Linked DNA regions of Homo sapiens: region 1 is linked to region 2. The links are contacts of gene promoters, found by promoter capture Hi-C in human tissues and cell types (Jung and others, 2019). All regions are on one chromosome and are shown on one strand. Each heading gives the region's core, a stretch centred on a gene start or on the middle of the fragment in contact. The rest is flanking DNA. Distances are from core to core; before and after follow the strand shown.

What was found. The method cuts DNA at HindIII sites, captures the fragments that hold promoters and counts their contacts. A contact is called where the count stands out against the background at its distance.
Region 1: a contact is called between the fragment with the promoter of NHEJ1 here and the fragment with the promoter of WNT6 in region 2, in 1 of the 25 tissues and cell types used here (IMR-90 fibroblasts).

What each region holds. Positions count from the first base shown.
Region 1 is chr2:219,158,092-219,164,891 of GRCh38, forward strand. It overlaps NHEJ1 (non-homologous end joining factor 1), which reads right to left and starts at 2,724. Exons shown (of 8, transcript NM_024782.3): 1 at 2,629-2,724; 2 at 95-271. The coding sequence starts at 271. It overlaps SLC23A3 (solute carrier family 23 member 3), which reads right to left. Exons shown (of 12, transcript NM_001144889.2): 9 at 6,142-6,247; 10 at 5,297-5,464; 11 at 4,208-4,303; 12 at 3,374-4,113. The coding sequence ends at 3,818. RefSeq lists a silencer at 2,389-2,508. The HindIII fragment of the contact is 15,467 bases long and covers 642-6,800 here.
Region 2 is chr2:218,855,094-218,861,443 of GRCh38, forward strand. It overlaps WNT6 (Wnt family member 6), which reads left to right and starts at 4,712. Exons shown (of 4, transcript NM_006522.4): 1 at 4,712-5,024. The coding sequence starts at 4,945. The HindIII fragment of the contact is 31,874 bases long and covers 1-6,350 here.

The DNA of each region.
Region 1 (6,800 bases), core at 1,474-3,973, 300 kb after region 2:
CTCAACCCGATTCAACCTTCCTTGGGAAACTACAGGCCAGCAAGCTGGTTGATGTTCACATCCCCGACACAGCAGTACTTCTCCTCATACTTACCTTGGCTCGCTGGCTGACCACACTAGTGTCCACCTGTTCATGCCACACCTGTTGAAGATCTGAAACCAACAAGGCATAGCCCTGCTTGGTGATAAAAACCTTGGCCAAGAGGGAGTTCTCTGCAAGCTGTAGCCACGCCCATGGCTGCATCAACAGGCCTTGCTCCAGTTCTTCCATCTGCAAAAAAGTCCTCATTTAGTAAAGAGCCTCAGGGTCATGCTGGCCTAGGGAGGGCACCACCCAAACCAGTCTGTATCAACTAAAATCTCATGAAAATCCTCCCTGATAAAATAGAAGGCATGGATTTACGTTCTCCCAGTATACAACCAGCTGAGCACTGACTTTACTACCTCCTGGCCACTAAAAGTATATTTAAAATCTTGAGGGTTTTTTTTTTCCCATATTACATTCCTAGAGGACAGAAAATCTTTCTTCCATAGTGTTTAAACCTCAGCATATTGCTGTTAGTATTTCTGCTTTCTAATACTATAACATAACGTGGAAACCTAAACCCTTCTTGTTCCATCTTTATCACATTCCTAATAAATATGTCACTCCTATCCTTTCCCAGAACTAGAAGAGAAGGAATAGTTCTTGTCTTATAAAACATCATAAGTCATAGTGTCAGGGCCAGGAAATTCGAAGTATTTGATCATTATCTAAAAACAAAGTTTAGGAAGCTCTCAGGATTTTTTTAAAAATCCCTAAAACAGGTTCTTAATCTAGAGTCAATGCATGTGAATCCTCTAGAATTATATGAAAATGTTATGTGTACACGCATATATGCATGGGGAGGGGGAAGAGGTCTACAGCTATCATCAAACTCTCAGGGATCGATGACACAAAAAAGAGCTAAGAACCTGTGTCCAGGAGCAACAGAAAAGACCTAAATTTCATTTCAACAAAAACCAGAATGACTAGGAAATCATGAATACAAGGCAGAGCACATCACAGAGGTAAAGACTGAATTAACTTCCACTTAACTCATCCTCCACATTCCCACTCCAGTGCACTGCCACCAATGACAACATGCCCAGCCTGGAACCCCTGCAAAACAACTTTTCTATCTCAGCAGCTAAAGTAGTAGGCTTAACCTAGTAGACAATCAGAACTACGGCTGCTTGACAGAGAATGTGATTGTTTTTCCTGTGGGGGAGAAAAAAATATGTCAATTTCCTTCATTATTCCAGTCTACAAATATAAAATGAACAGAAGTACCAGGAAGGAAAAATTTAGAATGTAAATAATGAAATTCCTTATTAAGTCTGATTAACACAGTCATTTCCCCTAGCTTTTGAAGTGTGCCCTTGTGACTTGTGACATAACTTTATATATATATGCATATATATATGCATATATATATATGCATATATATATGCATATATATATGCATATATATATGCATATATATATATGCATATATATACATATACGTGGTGATCTTTCTTTATGGCATCCTCAAAGCCTTGTGTTTGGAGGATGGTGTTTCCGTCACATTTCCCACATGCTGCTCTTATGGGGACAGAAGTGGTCATGGGATGATTAAGCTAGTCCTAGCCGGACAAGAGCTCCACAATGCCAAAGGTCACAAACGCGAATAAAGTCGCCACTTTCATCTCCCTTATAGGCACTCCCCAGTGTACTCTTAACAGTTGCCAAAATTGGGTTTACTATTCTAGCCCATTCCTTCGGAAAGCCCGGAAGCTCAGAACCCTCAAATTGATGGGTTTTGTTTGTCTGTTGGGTAAAGGGGGAGGAGTTTAAAATGTGGCCAGGAGTAACGGGCCCTATAAAAAGGCCTGACACATTGGGCACCAGACCCCGGCTGCCTGCTCCCACCACACGCGTCCCGTTCTGCGTCCGAAGCTTCTACACTTCATCCTTTTCTTTTTTCCTTCAAGGCTGCCTCTAACATTCACATTAACGAGATTCACGGGTTTATTTCTCTTGAGTGGAGGGGCGCTGAGCGGCATCCCGGCGGAGGGGTCCCTTGAGAACCTTTATCTGCACCGAGTCCGCTCCTCAGCAGTGACCCCTCTGGGCAGTTCCTCCGACGCCCTGCAGAGGGCAGTAGAGGCCCAGAGAGCATCCCGGCTGGGCCCCGCCCGGTCCCCCTGGGACAGCGCGAACCCTAGGTCCCACCACAACCATAGCCCCACCCCAGGAGCCGCCAGGCGTCCCGCTTCCACCCGCCCCAGCTATAACAGCCTTCGCTGTCCGCCTTCCCATTTCTACAGCACTGGCTGCACTGGGGCGCGGCTTCAAGGGGCAACAAAGCCGGCCACCAGCGGCTTCGTCGCACCAAACAGGCGACCAACGAGTACCTTCACTCGAGCCCTACCATCCACGCCGGGCAGCAGCCAGCGGACTGCGCACGCGCGGCCCCGCCCACCCCTCCCCCGGAGGCCTGCCCTGGACCCCGGCAGCGCGCGCTCCCTCCAGGGAGAAAAGGCCAGCGCCAGGGCCAACCCGCAGCGTCTGAGCAGCCCCTCGCTGGCTTGCTCCTGCCCGGACTCGAACGCGATTCCACCTACCGTCAGCGGCCGCGAGAGCGCCCACTCTCTTAGCCGCACGCACGCTTTCCTGCCCGCTCGCGCAAACCGAAAGGCCTAGAGTAAGAGGCCGCTTTCCCCCCACCGCAAGAGGAGGCAGGGTCTTGGGATACAGGGGCGGGGCCTATGCCTGGCGTGGGCGGGGCTTCTGGGCCTGGGACACTGATGAGAGGAGCGCCCCAGTGGCCAGGGTAAGTGGAGGAGAGGCCGGGCAGCCGGCTAGTAGAAGGGTAGTGGCGCGTCTTGGAGTCACGCTGGCCGAGTGGAAAGAATAGCGGGCGAGGCGCAGGAGAGGGGAGCCCAGGTTTGGATTTGTCAAACTTGAGTCACTTCTCTTCCCTCCCCTACCTATCCGGTCTCTTTTTAACAAAATAAGGGATTGAACTTCTGTAGATGATCTCTCAGGTCCTCCACCAGCACTAGAGTTGTTGAAGGAAGGAGTCTCCCAGGCATAAGTCCCATAGTCCGACCTCATCCTTTACCTCTCCTGCTTCATTTCTCCATCATCCCCGTACTTATACTCCCTCACTACTGAGAAATTTGAAACCCCTCACCTATCTTGGACTTTGTACAACCCATGGCTTTGCTCAAGCTGGACCCCGAACCTGAAAACTTCTCTGCATCCATTTTCCAAAACCAAAAATCCTCATTTGTCAAGGCCATCCTCATTGCTTCTTGCATAAAGCCTTTCCCACTGTCCCCAATCAGAATTCATTATCCCTTCCTCTTTGCTCCCACGGCATTATTTTAATCTTTATTACAGACTGCTTTCTGCTTTGCATTTTCGTTAGTAATTACAAAGGTCTTTTTAAACCGTAAATGCCTTGAGACGGCATGGACCCTGTCTTATCCCTGTAGTTCCAGGACCTTGCACATGGGAGATGCTCAGTAAGTATTAAAGTGAATGCTGGGGTTCAAGTGGCATTGATAGTACACAGGCAAAATCTCAATCATTCATGGTCCACTAAATCATGGCCTCTGCTCTGGAACAGTTAGGCCTAATTAAGACAAGGAAAGGCAACCCACCCTATTGGGAAATGGAACCTCTAGACAGTCCCATGTAATACACACACACATATCCTCTGCCTACAAGAAAGAACAGTTTGGGAGCTGACTCTCCAGCAGATGAGAGTTAGGGCTAAATTAACCAGGGCAGAAGTAGGCGTTCTGGTCATTTCTGGGACCTAAACCCTTCTCTGCTAGATTCAGGGCATGGCTCCCCTGAGCCAGGCAGCAAGTCTGCCATCTCTTCTGGCTCAGAGGAGCCTCCTTCCTCATCCCCAGGGTCTTCAGGCAGTGGGCAGAGGCAGTGGAGAGGCTGGGGGATGCAGGGACAGAGGTTTTGGATGGGGAAAGGAAGTCTGTACACTTGAGCAGCCTTCTCCCTGGGCTTCTGAGGCATTCGAGCCTCTTGGGCAGTGAAAGGAGATGGTAGCCCTTGACCTAGGCCTCGCTCAAGCTGTGTGCCTGCAAAAGAGAGGTTTGTCAGGCTATTGCCCATCCCAGGGAGGGATGGCTTCCTGGCCACTCCCCAGTCTGCTAGGGCCTAGCCTCAACTTACCAGGAATCGTGTTCTCTAGTAGGAAGCCTGAGAGTCCAGCCAGGAAGATGGGCTGTGTCAGCAGTGAGTGCAGTAATACATCCAAGGGGCTCCAGCCTATGAAGAGTTGGGGCCAGGCAGGAAGGGAACTCTGATCCTATATCCAAGCCCAGGAGTCTTACCCTCCCAGACCTAAACCTAAGCCTTGGACTAAGGACAGATCTTTCTGAATTGTCATTTCATCCCTCTCACCCTTTGTCTTTCTACTCTCCACTTTCCAAATCCAGGCCTTTCCCACAGGATTCCTGCTCAACACCCTGTGTTCTGATCATCCACACACCCTCCATATATGCTTTGACTATTCCAGGTTCCCTTTCTCTAGAAAGCGTAATATTTAAGTCCCAACCTCATCTCCCATTTTTTACCCTCTATGCTCTATCCTGGGTTTTTCAACCTCAGTCCTACTGACATCTTGGACCAGATAATTCTTTGTTGGGGGTGGTGGTGCAGGGGGGATGTCCTGTACAGTGTAGGATGTTTAGCAGCATCTTTCTATCCACTAAACCCTAGTAACAACTCCCTCTTCCTCCATTTGTAACAGCCAAAAATGTCTCCAGACATTGCCAAATGTCCCCATGGGGGCAAAATCACCCAGTTGAGAACTGGGTGAGACAAATTAAGCAATTTACTGCTCTCAGGACATATCCTAAGACTTCCCACTTCTGTGTCTTTGCATAAATGATGGTTCCTCCATCAGGAATGACCTTCTTCTCACCAAAGATGTTTAAAACTTACCATCCTTCAAGACCAGCTCTGTTACTGGATCACCTCAAACAGAAGCTATCTCTCTTGCCACTGAGCACTGTAGCTCTTTATCTGAACCTTTCCTGTTATTTTCCTACACATCTCATCTCTTGTACTACGCTGTAATAACGGAAGGCATCTTTGTATTCCAAATGGCTAGCATAGTGCTCAATAAATATCTGTTAAACAAATGGATGAAGTATTTACACCAAAGCCCAGAGAAGGCTGTGGGGCCAGGAGTCCGGGCAGCCTGAAGCCTCAACTTGCTTTCCTGCTACTGAGCAACGCCTCTTCCCTTCCACCTACCTGTGCTGAACAGGACTGGGGCTTCCCGAAACCATCTTGGCAGCAGCAAGGCCATGAAGATGGAGAAGCCCACAATGAAGATATTTCGCCCAGAGTCTATGTCAGCCAGGTAGAAGCTGGAGAATCCAGCAGACAAAACCACAGCCTGGGTCACCCCCAGCACCCCACCTGTCTCATACAGAAGAAATCAAGGGGGTCAGGAGGAGTCAAGGGGGCTCACATAGCATGGAGTATTGCAGGGCAAGCAGGTTGTAATGGGAAACAAATAAAACCCAAGAGAATGATTTTTGTTTTTTTTGTTTTTTTGTTTTTTTGGTTTTTTTTTGAGAGCAAGTCTCACTGTAACGCCCAGCCTGGAGTGCAGTGGTGCAATCTCGGCTCACTGCAACCTCCGCTTCCTACTCCCGGATTCAAGCGATTTCTCCTGCCTCAGCCTCCCGAGTAGCTGGGATTACAGGCATGTGCCACCACGCCCAGCTAATTTTTGCACTTTTAGTAGAGACAGGGTTTCATCATGTTGGCCAGGCTGATCTCGAACTCCTGACCTCAAGTGATCTGCCTGTCTGGGCCTCCCAAAGTGCTGGGATTACAGGTGTGGGCCACCACGCCCAGCCTGAGGCTGATTTCTGATTCTTCAGGAAGCCCAGAAGCCCAATCAAGAGAAGACCAAAATGTTGGGCTGAGAAATTGAGGCTGACACATGCTCATATCCATCCATCCATCCATCCATCCACCCATCCATCCAGGAAAGCTATTTAGAAGGAAAGGGTGCCATCCTAAAGAACTGATCAGGCCACACTGGGGAGTAGCAGTTCAATACCAGCCCTGTTGATACATCCACTCACCAACAACAGGCAGTGGGATGGTGGTGAGGAGCTGAGCCAACCTGGGGGAGAGTCCAAGCCCCACGCAGAGTAGCCCCACTAAGTGAGCCACTTGCTGAGATCCAGCCTGCATGAAGAAAAGACACTGGAAAACACAGCCACTTCCTCAGACTGTCCCAGGTCTTTGCCTTACTGGTTCCTTCTCATCATTTGGATCCCAGCTCAAATGTTACTCTTCCAAGAAGCCTTCCTGGCCAGTCTATCTAAACGTGCCTCCTTTCCATCCCACTACCCTGATTTTTTTATATAGCACTTATTGCCTTCTGAAATTTTCTTCACTTTTCTTTTTTTAATTTTTAATTTTTTGAGATGGAGTCTCGCTCTGTCGCCCAGGCTGGAGTGCAGTGGTGCGGTCTCGGCTCACAGCAACCTCTGCCTCCCAGGCTCAAGCGATTCTCCTGCCTCAGCCTCCTGAGTAGCTGGAATTATAGGTGCACAACACCATGCCCAGCTAATTTTTGTATTTTTAGTAGAGACAGGGTTTCACCATGTTGGCCAGGCTGGTCTTGAATTCCTAGCCTAAGTGATCTGCCTGCCTCAGCCTCCCCACGTGCTAGGATTACAGGTGTGAGCCACCATGCCTGGCCCACTTTTTTAAAAAGATACTTTTTTCCTTCAAC
Region 2 (6,350 bases), core at 3,462-5,961:
AAATGCTCTTCCCTCCCTGTGTCTCCCAGTTAACGCCAACTTATTTATTTTACATTTCAGCTAGAGTGTTCCCTCCTTAGAGAAGCCCTCCCCGCCCCCATGACCTGGTCAATCCTCATCCCACAGCCTCTTACAGGCCCCTCCCTTCTTTTCCCCAGCACGGTCAAGGTTGTTGGCTTTCCTTTTGCTTGAGAGATGATGTGATTAAAGACTGTCAGCTCCATGTGGGTAGGAGTTATGTCCGCTTTTGCTCACCATTTCCCCCCTCCCCCGCTACCCAGCTGGGAGCCTGGCACATCAGTGTCCGATTACAAATTTGCTGACTGCTGCCCAGGGAGAGAGACAGCAGACAAGACATCAATAGGGAGGCTGGCTCCAGAGACCTGGATTTAGGAGCCCCGTTTCCCGCAGAAGTGAGAGCTGAAGCAGCAGGGACAGGTGGTGTCCCAGGAGCAGAATGGAGCAGTGAGACGAGAGGAGGGCAGAGGCTCTTCCCTAGAACGCTTGAGACCAGGCCAGGACCCTTTGCCCATCCCACGTCAGTACCACAGGAGCCAGCCTGGGCCAGGATGGCTGGAGAGGCTCCTGGGGCCAACCACTCCCACTTGGGCCCATGGGGCTAAGCTAAGTGGAAACAAATGTTCCCTGGCTTTCCCCCAGCCCAGTTGTGGTGGGCGAGCAGCAGCCCCTCCTTCCCTAGCCCGTGCTCTCCTGCCCCATTCAAGCTCCCCCTGGGTTCTTGCTCCCCGGACTGGTGGGGGCATGGATAGGCTTGAAAGAGGTGGAAGATGGGAGGCAGGTGGGCTCTGCAGGAAGCTGGGGCCTGGTGTAGGGGATTCTCTTATCCCTGCCTTGACTAAAGCTGGGAACTTGCTCTGGAAAAGCACACTTTCCTGACTTCAGGTGGGCTGCGGGCGTGGGAGTAGAGCTGTCTGTGATGCAGAAGGAAGAGGAAAATGAGCCTCTCTCCTCGCTCTCTTTTCTTTTTCTATCTTTCTCCATCTCTCTAAGGGGCTGGCCTTTCCTCTCTCTGTTCTCCAGGGACCCAGAAACCCAGGGTTCTTAGGAATTCTCAAGGCATGTCACCTCCCTGAAGGAATAGGAGTTCCTGGGGACAGAGAGAGGGAAGGACAGATAGGAGTTCTGGGGACAGAAGGAGGGAAGTAGGGAGGGAAAGAGGGAGGTTCTTGGGAGGGGAAGGGTCACAGGCCCAAATTCCTAGGCTCCTGCAGCCTTAGCCATTCCGAGAAACGACAGAGAAAGTGATTTAGAGACAGACACAAATAGAGACCGAATTATGAACATGGGAGAGATGTAAAAAGGCACAGAAAGACAGTGAGAGAGAATCCGCCAGAGACAGAGGGCTTTGCTTTCGCCCGCAGCGATTCTGATGTTATCTATTTCCAGCTGCCTCTCCCCCACCACTCCACTGCCCCCACTCTGCCCCTCCTTCCTCCTCAACCTCAAGTCTCTCCTTCCCTGTCTCTCTTTCGCACAGGGCCTAGACATAGTATGAGTGGGTTCCCAGGATTTAAGGCGGAGCGATGAAGGAAGGTGGGGTGGGCAGGGCCTAGAGGATAGGGAGGGGGGTCAGACTGTCACCTCCCCATTCAGGCCACCCATTTCCGGGCTGCTGTCTTCCCACTCCAGTCTCTTGTGAATGTTCTTCTGCATGCATATCTCTGCAGAGGTGATGTGTGTGTGTGTGTGTGTGTGTGTGTGTGTGTGTATGTGAAGTGTTTCAGCCTGAGCCAGCCCATCTGTGTGTCCGTCCATACCTGTGGGTAAAAAATCACAGCACCGTCTGGGGGAGGGAAGATGTCCTGTGGTTTCTGTGGGGTTATCTGGAGGCCTGTGCCCAGTGATTGGTGTGTGTGAGGGGGCATGTATGTCACATATCTTGATCTATCTTTGTGCACCATGGTCTGTTACCTCCTGCCACCCCCTCTCCAGCTCCTGCTCCTTTGTAAGTCTTCTAAGGTGATAGTGGTGGGTTGAAGGCTCAGGAACATCTGAATTCATCTCTTTGGAGGTTTGGGGGCAAAACAACAGAAGTCATCACTCTGGCTCTGCCCAGATGCCAGCCAGCCCCTTGATGGGGATGCGGAGAGGGCAAAGGAGAGTGAGCAAAAGGGTGCTGTTGGGGCAGAAGCCCTAGGAATTGGGACTCCAGGAGTCCTGCCTGTCACAGATTCCAGCCCACCTCCCCCCGACCCCCCAACCCTATAATGCTCTGCAGGCACTACTGGGCCAACTGATTCTGGAATGGGACTGAGTGCAGGAGGGACAAGGGCTTGGGGAGTCCAGAGATGGCAAAAGATTCTGCAAGATCTGGCTAGAGTGAGTGCTGCAGGAGGGGTGGGGCCAGCTGTGTATGTTTGCAGGAAAGGTGGGGGGTGGGGGCAGAAAGGCCGCCTGCGGGGGAGAAGGCTTCTTGGCAAACGCCCCAGTTTCCTGAGCTGATCCCTGCTCCCTGCCACTGCTCCCAATTCTGTTGTTTCAATAACATCATTTTTATCCACCCCACAGAGAGACTGTGTCTTAGGAAGGGGAGGCGAGGGGCAGGGCTAGGGCATGGGGGAGGGGTGGTAATGGAGAGAGGCTGGGTCTGGAGGCAGCAGGGACTAGATTTGGGGCGCTCCCTCCTCAGGCAGAGGCAGGGCGGTCTCAGAGCCCAGGTCCCCTGATGACAAAGACAAATACATTAAAATTCTTGCCTCGGAGAAGAATGCAGGATAGGGAGAGCATTTCATAATCTGCAATAACAGTAGCAGGGTGGGAGCAGGGCTGGGCAGGGGGTTCGGAACCCAGACAGTGGCTCCCAGGAGGCTGGCCACTGGCCACCTGTAGCCTCCAGGGACCCCCAGAGCCCTCTAGCTGCCTATTTGGTACCACATGGCTGGAGTGTGCACCCAAACTGGGTATGTCTTTGAATGTGTAGTGTCCAGAGTTGGCATTGACCTTTAGGAACTGTCCAGATTGGCATTGCCCCGTAGAAACAGCAACTGTGTGCAAAGTTACTAGGTGCAGGGGCTGTGCGTGGCCTTTGGATACTGTTAAAGGCTAAAATGGGAGAGGGCAGTGCTTAGACCAGACCCTCTCTCTATGACTCTTGCCACTGCCCCCTGCCCCCTTCCCCTTCTTTAGTGTGTCCTAGCCCTTTCACCAGAACTCTCTGTATCCAGTGCAAGGGATTGAGCTGATGCAGCCTGGACACCAGGGCCCTGACATGGAGCTTGCTTGCCGGCAAGTCCACACTTCTCCAGTTCTCTCACCTCTGTCTGCTCATTCCTTCCCCCATCAGCCTCCTCCCCTGGGGTCACATCCCTTGGCCCCTTGGCCTCATCTTGATCTACTTGTCCCCCCTCTCTGGGTGACTCAGGATCTTGTCTTCTCTCTCTGCTCACCAAGGTTGTTTGGAAGTGACCTCAGTCATCACTCTCTTGGAAGCGACCTCAGTCCCCACATTCAGGTCCCCCTCTCTACCAACAACCAGGAGCTTTCTTCTGGGCGCCTGACGTTTCTGCCATAGGGACTCGATCTGTCCTCCCCACTCCAGGACAGCTTTAAAGGTTGATGGTTGCTCTTGATGGTATGGCAGGGAGAATGTCCCACACCACCTGTCCCTTGGCACCCCGGGGCACGTCGGGGACGGGAGGGGCAGGGGCTGCTGCCCACTGCCAGCCGAATGGCATGATGAATGGAGCTGTCCCTCTTCCCCACGGAGCCTTTGATCTCCCCCTCGTGGGGAGGGGGCCAGGGGCATCAAAGACATTTTTGTGGCATTAGAAAATCTGATAAACGCCATCTCACCTGCAGCTGGCTCTCCCACCCCTTCTACCCGGGCCAGGTTGGGGGAGGAACTCGAGGCAGGGACTCTTGGACACGCGAGGCCGGGCTAAAGCGAATTCTGACCCCTCGATCTCTTGAAAGTCTGCGACCTCCATTCTCCCGCTCGCTTACAAGTGCCAGCGCTTGCGCGCACGCCCTGGAGCGGCTACTCTTGCCCTCTCATTTCCCCCACCTCCCCGCCCTAGAACGCGGGCTTGAGAGGTGGGATGGCTGGGGGAGCGAGAGCGGAGGCCCAGGGCTTCCTCCCTTCTTCAAGGAGAGGCTGACGAAGGGGCATGAGGCATCGAACAGGGACACGGAAAGAGATGACCCCTCCAGCATCCGCCTGTCGGGCGGTCCAGTTTGACAACCCTCGCCGAAGCACCCCGCGCCCCAGGCCAACTTCCTCTCTTGCCTCCGCGCCAGCATCTCCCTCCGCACCGCCCCCCGCCCCAAACTCCCTCATTCCTGGGAAGTTTTCTCTCTTTACAGTCAACAAACCTGTCAAACGTCTCCCTTCCAGCCCGTCCCCCATTCCTCAGCTCCTCTTTCTCCCCCCTCACCCCTCTCTACTCTTCTTCCCAGCCCTTCCTTGCCCCCGACTCCAGGCGGCCGCGAGCGGCGGGGGGCTCCAAGTCCGAGAGAGGCGAGGCGAGGGGGCGAAGCGGGCGGGTCCCACAGCCCGAAGCGCGCTGGGGCCCCGCCCCGGCACCCCGCTCCCGCCCTCCGCTGCGCTCCGCGCCAGCCGCCCCGGGGCGCACGGCTCGCTCCCGAGAGTCCCGCTGCCTGACTGTCGCAACTGCCACCTCCCTCCGGCCCCCTGCCCCCCGCCCCCGCCTCGGCCCCGCTCCCCTCCCACCTCCGCCCCCGGCTCTGATTTCTTCTCCCGAGCGAGCTCCGCAGGAGACACAGGCGCTGGCTGCCCCGTCCGCTCTCCGCCTCCGCCGCGCCCTCCTCGCCCGGGATGGGCCCCCCCGCCGCCGCCGGATCCCTCGCCTCCCGGCCGCCGCCGTTGCGCTCGCCGCGCTCGCACTGAAGCCCGGGCCCTCGCGCGCCGCGGTTCGCCCCGCAGCCTCGCCCCCTGCCCACCCGGGCGGCCGTAGGGCGGTCACGATGCTGCCGCCCTTACCCTCCCGCCTCGGGCTGCTGCTGCTGCTGCTCCTGTGCCCGGCGCACGTCGGCGGACTGTGGTGGTGAGTCCGGCTGTCCTGGCGCGGCTCTGGACCCTGGAGGGTGGGGACCCCGGGACCCAGGACAGACTGGGGTGTTCCGCAGCCTCCCGGCTCTACCTGCTCTCCGAGCCCAGCTTTCTGGCCTCGGCCGGGGGCGTTTCTGAACTCCACTTCGACGTTCCTAACCCTCGGGAACATTCTATTGTGTTTCCTCCTCCCGGGTTCTCTCCCACCCCCCGCCAAGTTATGCGCTCACCCAGCTCACCAAGGAACAGGCGAGTGGGTAGGAAAGATCTTTCGGGAAGACACATATCCGAGGAAAAGAATGTGTGAGGAGGGCCCTGGATTCAGGGTATGGGGCTGGATTTGGAGAAGACAGGAACAAGGTGGGAAGCCACAAGGCAGAGAGGGCCACACAGCTGCCCCTTCCCCGCCCTGCTTTGCCTACCAACCCACCGGCTTCTCTCTGGGCTCCTGAGGAGTGGGCCTTAGTGACGACAGAGGGAATATAAAGGGGAAAGTGAGTCAGGACCCTGGTTTTCTCTACCTCGTCCTCCCCAAGCAAGGAAAAGGAGGAGCGGAAGGAACCGGACCCAGGCGCCCGGCCCTTCCAGACCTGGGGGTCATGAATGAAAAAATATGTGCAGCCCGGGAGATACGGGACCGGGAGGGGTCCTGCGGGAAGGGAGAGGGGCCTGGCCAGCCAAGGGAAGGGGGCGTCTTCCCAGGCTTGGCCCTAGCTAGAAGGGACACCTAGGCAGCGAAGGTTGCGGGAGCTTCGAGCCTTGGGGGTGGGGGTGGGGCCGGGGCGGGGAAGGAGGGTGCCCGACCGGGACGGCTCAGAGATCCAGATCCAAAGGACTTTTTTCCCCCTAGGTCTCCAGAGCCGCAAACCCTCGCCCGGAATAGCTCAGTGTTTAGAGAGGAGAGACTTGGACAATAACGCTGACGGGTTAGCCAATCCTAAGAAGGCAGGGTCGTGTCTATTTGCATATTGCCATGTGATTGGCTGGATGCCGACCCTCCGCTCCTCCCTCGCCCCCCAGATTTGGAAGAGAGGCAGATCCCCGTGCTCTGGAGAGATAGGGAGTAGGATGCCCACACAGGGAGTGGCGGGCAGCAATCCCTACTCCGTGATGCGGAGAGCCGTCCGACGCTAGTGTCACGGAAAGGGCGAACCGAGGACGACCCAGGTCCTATCTAGGGAACATATGCCCTTTGATCCGGCTTAGTATAATGCAGTGGCAGCTTTGAAGCAGATAGATCTAAGATCTAAACATTATGTTTGTGATCTTGGGCTAGTCACTTCCTTTCCCTACCTCTCAGTCTTAACTGGAAATAGGATAA